Linked DNA regions of Homo sapiens: all the other regions are linked to region 2. The links are contacts of gene promoters, found by promoter capture Hi-C in human tissues and cell types (Jung and others, 2019). All regions are on one chromosome and are shown on one strand. Each heading gives the region's core, a stretch centred on a gene start or on the middle of the fragment in contact. The rest is flanking DNA. Distances are from core to core; before and after follow the strand shown. Region 1 has its middle 43 kb from the start of EHBP1. Region 2 holds the start of TMEM17 (transmembrane protein 17). Region 3 has its middle 7.0 kb from the start of EHBP1. Region 4 has its middle 70 kb from the start of EHBP1.

What was found. The method cuts DNA at HindIII sites, captures the fragments that hold promoters and counts their contacts. A contact is called where the count stands out against the background at its distance.
Region 1: a fragment that was not itself captured here is called in contact with the fragment with the promoter of TMEM17 in region 2 in 2 of the 25 tissues and cell types used here (adrenal gland and hippocampus).
Region 3: a fragment that was not itself captured here is called in contact with the fragment with the promoter of TMEM17 in region 2 in 2 of the 25 tissues and cell types used here (H1 embryonic stem cells and liver).
Region 4: a fragment that was not itself captured here is called in contact with the fragment with the promoter of TMEM17 in region 2 in 1 of the 25 tissues and cell types used here (H1 embryonic stem cells).

Annotation. Positions count from the first base shown.
Region 1 is chr2:62,660,912-62,663,974 of GRCh38, forward strand. No RefSeq gene overlaps it. Among named protein-coding and RNA genes, the nearest start is that of EHBP1, 43 kb to the right of the region's middle. RefSeq lists an enhancer at 1,672-1,721. The HindIII fragment of the contact is 6,067 bases long and covers 1-3,063 here.
Region 2 is chr2:62,504,388-62,507,525 of GRCh38, forward strand. It overlaps TMEM17 (transmembrane protein 17), which reads right to left and starts at 1,808. Exons shown (of 4, transcript NM_198276.3): 1 at 1,643-1,808. The coding sequence starts at 1,742. RefSeq lists silencers at 707-1,001, 1,339-1,508, 1,719-1,988. The HindIII fragment of the contact is 10,369 bases long and covers 942-3,138 here.
Region 3 is chr2:62,696,994-62,700,409 of GRCh38, forward strand. It overlaps a transcript of EHBP1 not described here. Among named protein-coding and RNA genes, the nearest start is that of EHBP1, 7.0 kb to the right of the region's middle. The HindIII fragment of the contact is 3,479 bases long and covers 268-3,416 here.
Region 4 is chr2:62,634,144-62,637,162 of GRCh38, forward strand. No RefSeq gene overlaps it. Among named protein-coding and RNA genes, the nearest start is that of EHBP1, 70 kb to the right of the region's middle. The HindIII fragment of the contact is 4,331 bases long and covers 1-3,019 here.

The DNA of each region.
Region 1 (3,063 bases), core at 161-2,660, 160 kb after region 2:
AGAACTGAACATATGTGACTCAATTTGAAAACAATGGCTAAAATGTTAACCTCTTAGCTCCAGCTAGACTGGATTCCAAAAAGTTATAGATCCTCTGGGTAGTGGAATAGCATATTTGTTTGGAATGCACCCAAATATCCTAACAAGATTTGTGAAAGCATTTTGCAACCATTGACACCTAACCACAAAATGTCTTCACATACTCAACTAGTGACGTGTAAACAGAAGAACAGGATTGTGTAGCAGAGCCAGTTTCAGGCAGCCCCACAACAGAAGATAATGCATTTCCACACTTTGTAAGAAATGGCATGGCCTAATATGAATGGATACCATGAAAATTGTGCATCTGAGCACATGAGTGGGCTCTTCAGTACCAGTGGAAATCTAGGATGAAATGGAAAGCCCTTGAACAAGCCATGCTAGAAATGATACAACCCAACCTGTTACGGAGGTGAAAAAGTGCTGGGCTTTCCATCCCTCGGAGGCTGAGACTGCTTGGCTACTGCTAGGAGAGTACAGCGATGGGTATCTCAGCATGGGGTGGCATCTTGTGCTTGCTCAGTTTAGCAAGCACTGTGCCTTGTGCTTGTAATGAACACTTAAGCATTTGAAGGATCTAAATGAATCAGAAGATCTAGTATATATTTCTCAAAGCCCTCCCCCTTGCTCACTTACAAATTGGCTAAATTCACAAACAAGCTGCTTTATCAATTCAAGGAGCCTTGCATGACTCCAAGTGAGTTACAAGTCTTAGATGTAAATAAGAAGTTTAACATTTTCTGAGTGGGAATATAGATATAGAAATATACTGTGCTGTCCTGAATTCCAAAGGTGGCATTTCCCACTATCAAAAAAGGTTTAAATTATTTAAAAAATAATTTTAAATTATTTATGTATTTACTTATTTATTTTTAAGCACTTACATGATACTAACCAAACACTATTTTAAGCACTTTACAAATATAAATTCACTTAATACTCACAGTCATCTTCACTAGGAAGGTATTACTCTTGTCATCATTCTATAGAGGGGAAATAAAGTCATAGACAGTTTAAGTAACTTGCCCAAAATTACACAGCTAATAAATGCCAGGATTGGAACTCAAGCAGTTTGGCTCTAAAGTCTATGCTATCACTTACTATGCTACATTATGAGGTTATTATTTTGGAATTTTCTTTATACTTAACTAGTAGATAAAATTTTTAGCTTGCAATACTAATGAAACCGTGATGGTGAATTCAACAGTTGAATGTGCTAATTATTGGAGCTCTGCATATATAATATATAAGCTATAGGCTATATTTTTAATATCAAAGTCTTTATTCGCTAACTTTTTCAGTTTACAAGATTATGATAGCTTTTCCTTTTAGGATCATGTGTTATTATAAACTAAAAATATAAAAAGCAAGCTAAGCACTATTTTAAAAAACATCCTAAAGGTACAATGCAAGGGACCAGTTACAAATGCCCAGAACCTGCTAGAGATTTGTAAGAAATCATTTAAAAGAGACTGGAAATACATTATTTGCCTGTTGAACACCTCAGTTCTTCCTTTCCATGCTGCTATTTGCATGAAAATTTGCTGCTTAGGTCAGGGCTTATGATAGGTTAGAAAAGTTTCCAATAGCCGAACACAAACCCAGGAATCAAAGTCCCCCAAATATACACAAAGGAAAAAACACACACACAACCTACCTAATCTGTAGCTAGAGTGCTTCTGGGCCATGGAACCACCCCATTGTGCCTTGGCCACTCCAGCTCAGAAACCAGAGTGTTGCCATGGTGGCAGGGACCCAACCGTGAGGGCTGGTTTCAATACCCAGCAGCTGTTCACTTCAGAAAAAGCAGGATGGCAGCCCACTTCTGAATGCGCATTTTTCTCTAGGCTTTGACCTGACCTGAATATTGTTTCTCATTGAATTTCCTTTTATTTATTTCTTTTTAGATATCAACTTTCCTTGAACTTTTCCTGTCATTTGTGTTGCAGTTGGCAGAACTACAGAACTTCTCCCTTCTGCAAAAAATGTGTTTTTTTTCTTTAACCATTTCTAAGTTTTTCCCTGTGTTGTCTTTATCTCCCCCACTTCTATATTTTACACACACACCTGTGCCTCATTATATGACGACCCAGGACAAATTCATCAGGTTTGTTTATTCCAAGAAGTGTGAAGGCCTCAGGTAGCCCCCTAAAAAATCCCTCCATGACTCACCTGACAGCAGAAATTTGTCCTATGAAACTTTGGAGCTGGATTAGAAAATATGACCCTTTACTCTCTTCATTCTGGCCATGGTCATAGAATCTGTGTTTAATCCTAAACACATTCTCAATTCACACTTGATTCATAACCTGCTTTTTTCTTCTCTTTGTTTACATGTTGGCAAAACATAAGGAATGTAAAAATATAAAAACTATTATGAATTATGAGCCCTGCTCACAAGGATTGTAGAAAAACTGTTCTTGATGCAAAAAGGAGCTGCACTATATTTAAGGTGAATTTATCCCTCTCCAGCTCTAAAGGAGTTTGGAATAATTTATAAATGAGGTTGTACTGCTGTTGAATATTTTTTTTAACTAGAAACAGTTTGTTTACAAGTTGTTACTAAAGACTGTCAGAAAAAAATGCTTGTGGACATGGTATCCAAAAGGCTGACAGAACCCAGAACTTGCTTGGTATTCATTTGAGAGCTCATCCAACATTATCCTGCACAGTGTATAATTACTTGCATGTTGGGAGCCAAAAAAGGGAATGTAACCCTGTGAGTGTGTGTTTATACTGAAAAGTTGGAGAAGCAAAACAATTCAGCAGCATTCTTCATCCCAACATCTGGGAATAATTAATTTGCTAGCTATGATGTATAACATGAAGTTGATAAAGTTGCCTGAAGCTCTGCATTTAGACCATTTGCCTTATTTAAAGCTTTCTGCTTTAGGGTTTAACACTGTGGCTAATTTTAGTAAATCTTTTTCTTTTTATTCCTGAAATGCTGTGATGAGGAGGAACCTTCTGCTTATAGTTTCTTGATCATTTTCTTTTTGCTCTTATTGTCAAAGTGTTCAGGAA
Region 2 (3,138 bases), core at 558-3,057:
CAATCCACAAAGAAGAAAATTTGGGAAAGAATAATAAATTGGGCAAGCTGAACATTTCAGTACCTTTGAGAAGAAACTGTAGTCAAATTTTGCAAAGAATGGTTTTCATGTTAGAAGTATTGTGTGTTAACATCTTAAAGGTTATGCTATGTCCATATTTCAGCAGATCAAACTTATAATCATGGAAATGAAAATCAAATTAATATGTAAATGAACCTTAAAAGCGTAAGACATAAACTTACTAAATTTTGCAAAAGTTCAAGTTGAGTTCTGTAAATGGAATTTAAATTAAAACATACAATATAAATCAGGGATAGGTAAACAACTGGCCAGCTGCCTGTTTTTGTACAGTCAATGAGCTAAAAATGTTTTTTCACGTTTAAATGGTTAAAAAAGTAATATTTTTTCCACACGTGAAATCCATATGAAATACAAATTTCAGTGTCCATAAAGTTTTATTGGAACACAGCCCTGCCTATTCAATAACTATTGTCAATGGCTGCCGTGGAGACCATATGGCCTACAAAGTCTAAAATATTTACTATCTGGTCCTTTTCAGAAAACGTCTTTTTACCTTGTATTATCAGACGTTAGTGCTCATTAAGCCTCATCCTTGGAACCAGAAACGTGAAAACCTATTTTTTTCACATTTTTCTCTGTACATCCTAAATCATAAAGGCCTACATTTGGGAAATAGGCAAGTGATCAAGGTGACAAAATGCAGCTTTGGGAACTGCCTTTACTTTTCTCTGTCCCTTTTAAAAATTCTCTAAAACCAAGCAGAGGAAAAGATTGATATTTCCCAGCAGAGTTGAATGATGAAAACCACATGGGTTTGGTTGACAGTGTGTTGTCTACCATCATGATGTAGGAGGAGGAAACTGTTCTGGAGGAAACTGTGTTATCACTTGACATCAAGTTAAAGGACGCAGAAGCATCATGGTATTTTGTTACCTTATGATAAGAGTTACATATAGGGGAGGAGGAGAAGGCAGGGAAGGGGTGAGTTTTGTTGAACGCCCGGCTAGTATGGCACATGCCAGTGGGAGTGGATGGTGGTTTGAAAGGACTCATTAACTTTTTTTTTTAATGTCTTCTACGAGAAAATGGCCTTGCTTAGGAACATACTTGTTCTGCTAGGAAAAGGGAAAAGGCAAATTTGTTCCCTGGGGTGGGGGTGGGGACGGGGGAGGTGGGATTGCTTGGGCTATTCCTCGTCATCCTGGACAGAAAAGCCGGGGCGGGCGCCGCAGAGGCAAAACAACTTGGGCCTTCGCTCTCGCGGCGCGCGGGGGACCAGCCTGTGCAGCAAGGGCGGCTTTTATCTTTTTATTTTTGGGGTTTCTCCGGGACAATGATGGGCCTTGCGCGGCACAGAGATCGGCCCCACGTCAGCTGCCGCGCTTGCAACAAGCTGGCCAGGGAGCACCACGCGGAGACCAGGCCCGGCCGGGGGCGGGAGGCCGCCAGCGCCTCAGCTCCCTGTCCGGCCCGGCCCCTCCTCCAAGGCGCTCTCCCGCACTGCGGAGAACTGGCTGAAGGCGACATCGCCATTTTAGGTACGGGCAAATTCTGGACGCTCCAAAATCCACGCCAAGCCCTCGGCAGGCCACACCCCCTGCACCGGGCCTCGGTCACTCACCCGGACCCTCATTGGACTCTGGACCGGTCCGATTGGAATCACTGAACACGGCCCGGCTGAAGTTTCCCAGCCGCTGGCGCACCGGATCCGGCAGCTCCATGCCTGGGCCTCAGTATCCCTCACCCCCTCAGACACGGGCTAGTCTGCGGGCGCTCCGAGGCTCCGTGGTTCCCACGGCAACCGGGCGGCGCGAGGCCGGCGGGACCCGGGAGCGCGCGGGGCTGCCCGGCTGGGCTGGGTCTCGTCCGGAGCCCGCGCAACCTGGAAGGGACCGGCGCGCTCAGAGCGCGTTCCAGGCCCAGGGAGCCGCGCGCCTCGGCCGTGTACAAAACGGCAGATCCCTTAGTTCTGCTTTGAGCTCGACCATCCTAAAAACAAACCTATACTAAGAAATGAGCTGGGGTTGGACTGCGATACAAGGAGCCCTCACATTTGCCAGTGGAACTGTAAATCGGTACAACCTTTCTGGAGAGAAATAGAGAACGAATGCAGAGCTTAAAGAATGTCTAGAGGTGTAGGGGTGTGTGTGAGAGAGAGAGACATCATGTGACTGATTATTTTTTAATAAGAAAACAGCAATGGGCAACTGATTAAATGTACTGGAGCACATACATTCAATGGAGTATGTTTCAGCTGCTTATAAAATGCTTGCAAAGGATATTGAATGGTATAGTTTAACTTTATGTAAAAATACAGCAGAAATAAAACTAAATGAGAATGAACCTAATTTAGCAAAATTTATGTGTATGAGTGGAGGGGAGGAGAGAGCGTGTGCACACTGGCTTGAAAAAAAGAACTGGAAAAAAGTCCAAAATGTTAACAGTCGTTTTCACTGGATAGTGGGATTGTAGGTGATTCAAAAATTTTTAAACGTCTTATTTTCTAGCTTTCTCTCAAGATATATTACTTAAAAAAAACTAAGTGTAATACACATACAGAAAAATTGTACACCTTTTGTAAGTAATATATATTACTTAAGAAATAAGTGTAATATATATACATAGACTGAAATCTGTATGTGTAATCAGCACCCTGTTCAAGAAACTTTACAATATTCCCAGAAACTCCCCCTTCCTATTTCCTTTCAGTCACTAAACCCACTCCTCACTCATAACTGACCTTTCCTGAATTCTAACAGCAAAGGAGAGTTTTGCCTTTTTTTTTTTAAATCAGAACATTTATTGTGTGACTAATCTAAAATTTTTTTTTTTTTTTTTTTTTTTAGACAGAATCTTGCTCTGTCACCCAGGCTGGAGTGCAATGGCACAATCTCGGCTCACTGCAACCTCCGCCTCCTGGGTTCAAGTGATTCTCCTGCCTCAGCCTACCGAGTGGCTGGGATTACAGGTGCCCGCCACCACACTCGGCTAATTATTGTATTTTTAGTAGAGACAGGGTTTCGCCATGTTGGCCAGGCTGGTCTCGAACTCCTGACCTCAAGTGATCCACCCGCCTTGGCCTCCCAAAGTGCTGGGATTACAGGTGTGAGCCACCGT
Region 3 (3,416 bases), core at 757-3,256, 190 kb after region 2:
GGGAAATTAAATAGGATGGGTGTGTTTGTTAAAACTCTGTCACATTCTTAATGACCATTACACTCTTGAAAGTTGCATGTGAGCTCAAGGGAATATGTTAATCAGATTGTTTTGGCTGATGTTTAACAGGTTGCAGATCATTTCTCTCAGACAATGTAATTTCAATTTTGGCATGTGTTAGTTTTGCATATTTGTAGTTACAATCATGTTGCCTTATAGACATAACTTAAAAAAATCAATGTCTCTATTCAGTAAATCATAAAAATAATAATGTAAATACTACAATTCAAATTTTAAAAACATAAATTGTAAACAGGACTCCAGTGCAAATATAGATTATAAATTTGTATGTGTTCTGACAAGTCTCTATGTGACTTTGCACAAGCAGCCACAACAAAAGGAAAGAGCTGGAAGTACAATAATACACATCTGATAATTGGATTTTATTGAGTGGGTGATCCTTTTATGTTAGTCCCCAGCACATTGTCTTTTATAACACTTTTCTCAGGTTTTTTGTCATTGTTAAACAAAGCACGGTCACCTCTCATCAACTGAAATTTTCTAAGGGAAATACTAAACAATGACTTCTAATAGAAGAGAAATATGAGCTCCAGGAGGACAGGGATTTTGTCTTTTTTATGTGCTGCATTCCCAATACCTACCAGAATGCTTTGACCTTAATAATTATTCACTGAATATTTCTTAATAAATTAACAGATTTTTCACTAAAAATATCATCAAAGAAAATCAAAATGAAAAAGCTATCATTCAAAGTTGTACTCTTGAACCTGTTGCCTTAGAACTTGCAAAGTCAACTGAAAGTTAATAAGATATTATTAAGGGAAATTAATAAGAGAAAACAGAATGAACTATTGGCAAAACTGATCCAGTAACATTCTTGGGCATACATCCATAGCATACAATGTTGAAGACCAGGTCCCATTATACACGCTGTGCAGCAATTTCATGTTACAGCTCTATATGTGTTAGAGAGAAGTACTCAACAAGTTGGTCTTTTTATCACTGACAAGTCACTGCAGGATTTTGGTAATTGTTATCTTGTTCAGCTGTAGGCTGGACAAGACACATGGCAAACAAACTGATTGGCACAAGGTAGTTTTGTGAATAGCTAGAAAGAGTGTTATTACAAGAATAAGAGAAGTTGAACAGTTAACAATATGCCTCCTATTCTTGCTTTAATTGTTCAAGAAAAGAGTGAATATTTCAAATATAATCAAGTTGTGACCTTTAAATATGCTCTTTTTAGCATGTGTTATGTGAAGAAACATGCACAAGTATAACACTCTCCTTTTCCACACTGAAGTATGCTGGTTAGCAGGTGCTCACACATTTTTGAAATGAGAAATGGGACACTGATAATGCAAGACAGTTGTTTCAAGGGGCTCTCTCAATATAGGTAACTCAGTACTATGTTCAATATCTAAAACAGACTCAACTTATTTCAGGGATAAAATATTGTGATTTTTAAAATTTTAAAGATAGCAGGATTTCTTCGGAAGATTGAACTATGGCACAAAAACCTGACTTGCTCAACACTTGAATTTCTTTTCTTGGAGAAAGAGATCAATGATGCATTATTGGGAATATTTTAAAATAGCATCCAAAAGTTGTGACAGAATATGAAGAAATATCCAGCGGCTCTCACAAAGTCATCTTTGCTTCCCAGGCTACGTTCTGATCACTGTAAGCCCAGTCACTAATTGGGTGACTTGCTGTGAAAAGAGAGGCCTGGAACAATATTGCAGCTCTCTCTGGCTCTCATGTTATTGCCCTTGCCCTGGAATTTTTCTCTATCTTGCCCTGCCCAGAAGATTGCCCAAACTGTGCATGAGTTAATCCTGCCCTTTGAAAGCTGGGTTTATTTTCCAGCTCTACTCATCTGGGACAAGCTTCAGCAACAGGGCTACTTTCCCTTGGCTCATGCCCAGTGCCCTGGTAAGTGGAGTTTTGCCTGCTTTCAGCTTGCTTTGAAATTTTGCTTTTTGTGTGTGTGTTCTTTGTACTGTATGGGATGGAAGTGCTTTGGTTTTACACCACAAGGGTTGTAGTCAATGCCCTCCAAGATTATGAATTTCTACCAGCTTTTCTTTGCCTTTCCTGTCTAGCCTTATTATTTCAGAATGATATTAATTATATTATCTTGCTCATACAAATATAATCATCTATGAATTATTCAGAGGAAAACACTGGCTGGATGCTGTATCTGGTTACCTGGATTTTTTTTCCAGTTTTTGAAAACACAGAAGAAGTGAAGCAAAGGTCAGTCTACCCCTTATAATTTGCCAAAGGCTCTTAACATTTCATGGGAAATGACCAGTAAGTCTTGGTCAAGAATCCCTGCTGATTTTATAGGAGATGAATTTATTGAATTTAGCAATGACTTTCTCAGCTGAGGTCTTAATTCCAACTCAAATCTTTGCTGCTATAATCCCAGTAATGGCCCACTTATTTGCAATATGTAAATTATCTCAGCTAGCTGCTTTTACCTTGACATACACATTTGTGGACTGGGACTTCACCATTATGAAAGTATCTTAAGTAGTTAGAAGGCTTAGATTGAGAGGATGCTATAGACCAGCAAGGGCACTCTAGAGTTAGGGCTGGTATTTAGTTAGTCCACAAAGGGACAACTAGGCCAACGTTTACAGTTGTCATCCATTCTAACTGATCAATGCCTATGCCATGTTGTTAACACACTGAATGTCCACACTTTGAATATCATTGTTGCCTGCAATATAAAGATTTCTAAGCTTCTAGTCATTCACTGTGTTGCTCCAGATTAACAACAGAAGTTAGTCCTGCCGAATCACCAGTGGATAGAATCTGTAGATTTGCTTCAGTCTCTACCTGAGTTTCAAGGAAGTCAAGAATGCTCCTCTGCCTCTAGCAACCAAGCCCATGTTGGTCTTTTCTAGATGCTGTGGAGCTGGACAAAATTGTATTTTTAGTATACAACTGAGGTCCTAGAATTAGTGCAATCTTAGGTTCAATGTGCAAAGCTTCATTATGACTAACTTCAAATATTCGTTCATGGGTAACTGCAACAGAAACAATTTCACCAAAGAATACTGTTCCTAATTGAAAGATGGTTTTCTAATGCAGCTTTTCTAAGCTTTTATGTCAACCAAAGAACTTGGGTCCTATAATGATAGAGTAAAAAAAAAAGGCCACCTTTTAAGAGAATAAACATAGGTTTTAAATTATTTTATTAAGAGTTATTATTTAAGGTTATATAACAGGCATAAATCTCAATCTAAAGAAATTCAGGTTGGCAAGAAACACAGTTTTATTTTCCCATTACTCAACCTAATTTCTATTTCAAGCTTTGATTTCACAAGGGGTGGCAAACACTTAATCATAGTCAATTTGGCAGGAACTGCATCTCAATTGAGGGG
Region 4 (3,019 bases), core at 360-2,859, 130 kb after region 2:
GAGTAGCCCTCCAGCAAGCTCCAGCAGACCTGCAGAGGAGGGGCCTGTTAGAAGGAAAACTAACAAACAGAAAGGAATAGCATCAACATCAACAAAAAGAACGTTCACTCAGAAACCCCATCCAAAGGTCACCAACATCAAAGACCAAAGGTAGATAAATCTACGAAGATGGGGAGAAACCAGTGCAAAAAGTCTGAAAATTCCAAAAACCAGAATACCTATTCTCCTCCAAAGGATCACAACTCCTCACCAGCAAAGGGACAAAACTGGACGGATAATGAGTTTGACTAATTGACAGAAGTAGGCTTCAGAAGGTGGGTAATAAATTCCTCCAAGCTGAAGAAGCATGTTCTAACCCAATGCAAGGAAACTACGAACCTGAAAAAAGGTTAGAGGAATTGCTAACTGAATAACCAGTTTAGAGAAGAACATAAATGACCTGATGGAGCTGAAAAACACAGCATGAGAACTTTGTGAAGCATACACAAGTACCAGTAGCCAAATCGATCAAGTGGAAGAAAGGATATTGGAGTTTGAAGATCAACTTAATGAAATAAAGTGTGAAACCAAGAGTAGAGAAAAAAGAATGAAAAGAAACAAACAAAGCCTCCAAGAAATATGGGACTATGTGAAAAGACCAAACCTACGTCTGATTAGTATACTTGAAAGTGACGGGGAGAATAGAGTCAAGTTGGAAAATGCTCTTCAGGATATTATCCAGGAGAACTTCCCCAACGAAGCAAGGCAGACCAACATTCAAATTCAGGAAATACAGAGAACACCACAAAGATACTCCTCAAGAAGAGCAACCCTGAGACACATAATTGTCAGATTCATGAAGGTTGAAATAAAGGAAGAAAAGGTTTAGGGCAGCCAGAGAGAAAGGTCAGGTTACTCACAAAGGGAAGCACATCAGACTAACAGCAGATCTCTCAGCAGAAACCCTACAAGCCAGAAGGGAGTGGGGGCCAATATTCCACATTCTTAAAAAAATTTTCAACCCAGAATTTCATATCCAGCCAAACTAAGCTTCGTAAGCGAAGGAGAAATGAAATCCTTTACAGACAAGCAAATGCTAAGAGATTTTGTCACCACCAGGCCTGCCTTACAAGAGCTCCTGAAGGAAGCACTAAATATGGAAAAGAGAAACCGGTCCCAGCCACTGTAAAAACATGCCAAATTGTAAAGATCATCAACACTATGAAGTAACTGCATCAACTAGTGGGCAAAATAACCAGCTAGCATCGTAACGACAGAGTCAAATTCACACATAAAAATATTAACCTTAAATGTAAATGGGCTAAATGCTGCAATTAAAAGACACAGACTGGCAAATTGGATAAAGAGTCAAGACCCATTACCATGCTGTATTCAGTAGACCCATCTCACATGCAAAGACACACATAGGCTCAAAATAAAGGGACGGAGGAATATTTACCAAGCAAATCGAAAGAAAAAAAAAAGCAGGGATTGCAATCCTAATCTCTGATAGAACAGACTTTAAACCAACAAAGATCAAAAGAGACAAAGAAGGGCATTACATAATGGTAAAGGGATCAATGCAACAAGAAGAGCTAACTATCCTAAATATATATTCATCCAATACGGTGGCATCCAGATTCATAAAGCAAGTTCTTAGAGACCTACAAAGAGTCTTAGACTCTCGCACAATAATGATGGGAGACTTTAACACCTCACTGTCAATATTAGATCAATGAGACAGAAAATTAACAAGGATATTCAGGACTTGAACTCAGCTCTGGACCAAGCAGACCTAATCGACATCTATAGAACTCTCCATCCCAAATCAACAGAATATACATTCTTATCAGCACCACATAACACTTACTCTAAAATTGACCACACAACTGGAAGTAATACACTCCTCAGCAAATGCAAAAGAATGGAAATCATAACAAACAGTCTCTCGGACCACACTGCAATCAAATTAGAATTCAGGATTAAGAAGGTCACTCAAAACTGCACAACTACATGGAAACTGAACAACCTGCTCTTGAATGACTACCGGGTAAATAACAAAATTAAGGCATAAATAAATAAGTTATTTGAACCAATAGGAACAAAGACACAATGTACCAGAATCTCTGGGACACAGCCAAAGCAGTGTTTAGAGAGAAATTTGTAGCACTAAATGCCCACCAGAGAAAGCGGGAAAGATCTAAAATCAACACCCTAACATCACAATTAAAAGAACTAGAGAACCAAGAGCAAACAAATTCGAAAGATAGCAGAAGACAAGAAATAACAAAGATCAGAGCAGAACTGAAGGAGATAGAGACATGAACAACCCTTCAAAAAATCAATGAATCCAGGAGCTGGTTTTTTGAAGAGATCAACAAAATAGATGGACCACTAGCCAGACAAATAAAGAAGAAAAGAGAGAAGAATCAAATAGATACAATAAAAAATGAGAAAGGGGATATCACCACTGATCCCACAGAAATACAAACTACCATCAGAGAATGCTATGAATACCTCTACACAAATAAACCAAAAATCTAGAAGAAATTGATACATTCCTGGACACATACACCCTCCCAAGACTAAACCAGGAAGAAATTGAATGCCTGAATAGACCAATAACAAGTTCTGAAATTGAAGCAATAATTAATAGCCTACCAACCAAAAAAAGCCAAGGACCAGATGGATTCACAGCCAAATTCTACCAGACGTACAAAGAAGAGTTGATACCATTCCTTCTGAAACTATTCCAAACAATAGAAAAAGAGGGACTCCTCCCTAACTCATTTTATGAGGCCAACATCATCCCGATACCAAACCTGGAAGAGACACAACAAAAAAAGAAAATTTCAGGCCAATATCCCTGATGACCATCGATACGAAAATCATCAGTAAAATACTGGCAAACTGAATCCAGCAGCACATCAAAAAGCTTATCCAACAAGATCAAGTTGGCTTCATCCCGGGGATGCACGGCTCATTCAACATGTGCAAATTAATAAACGTAATCCATCACATAAGTAGAACCAATGACAAT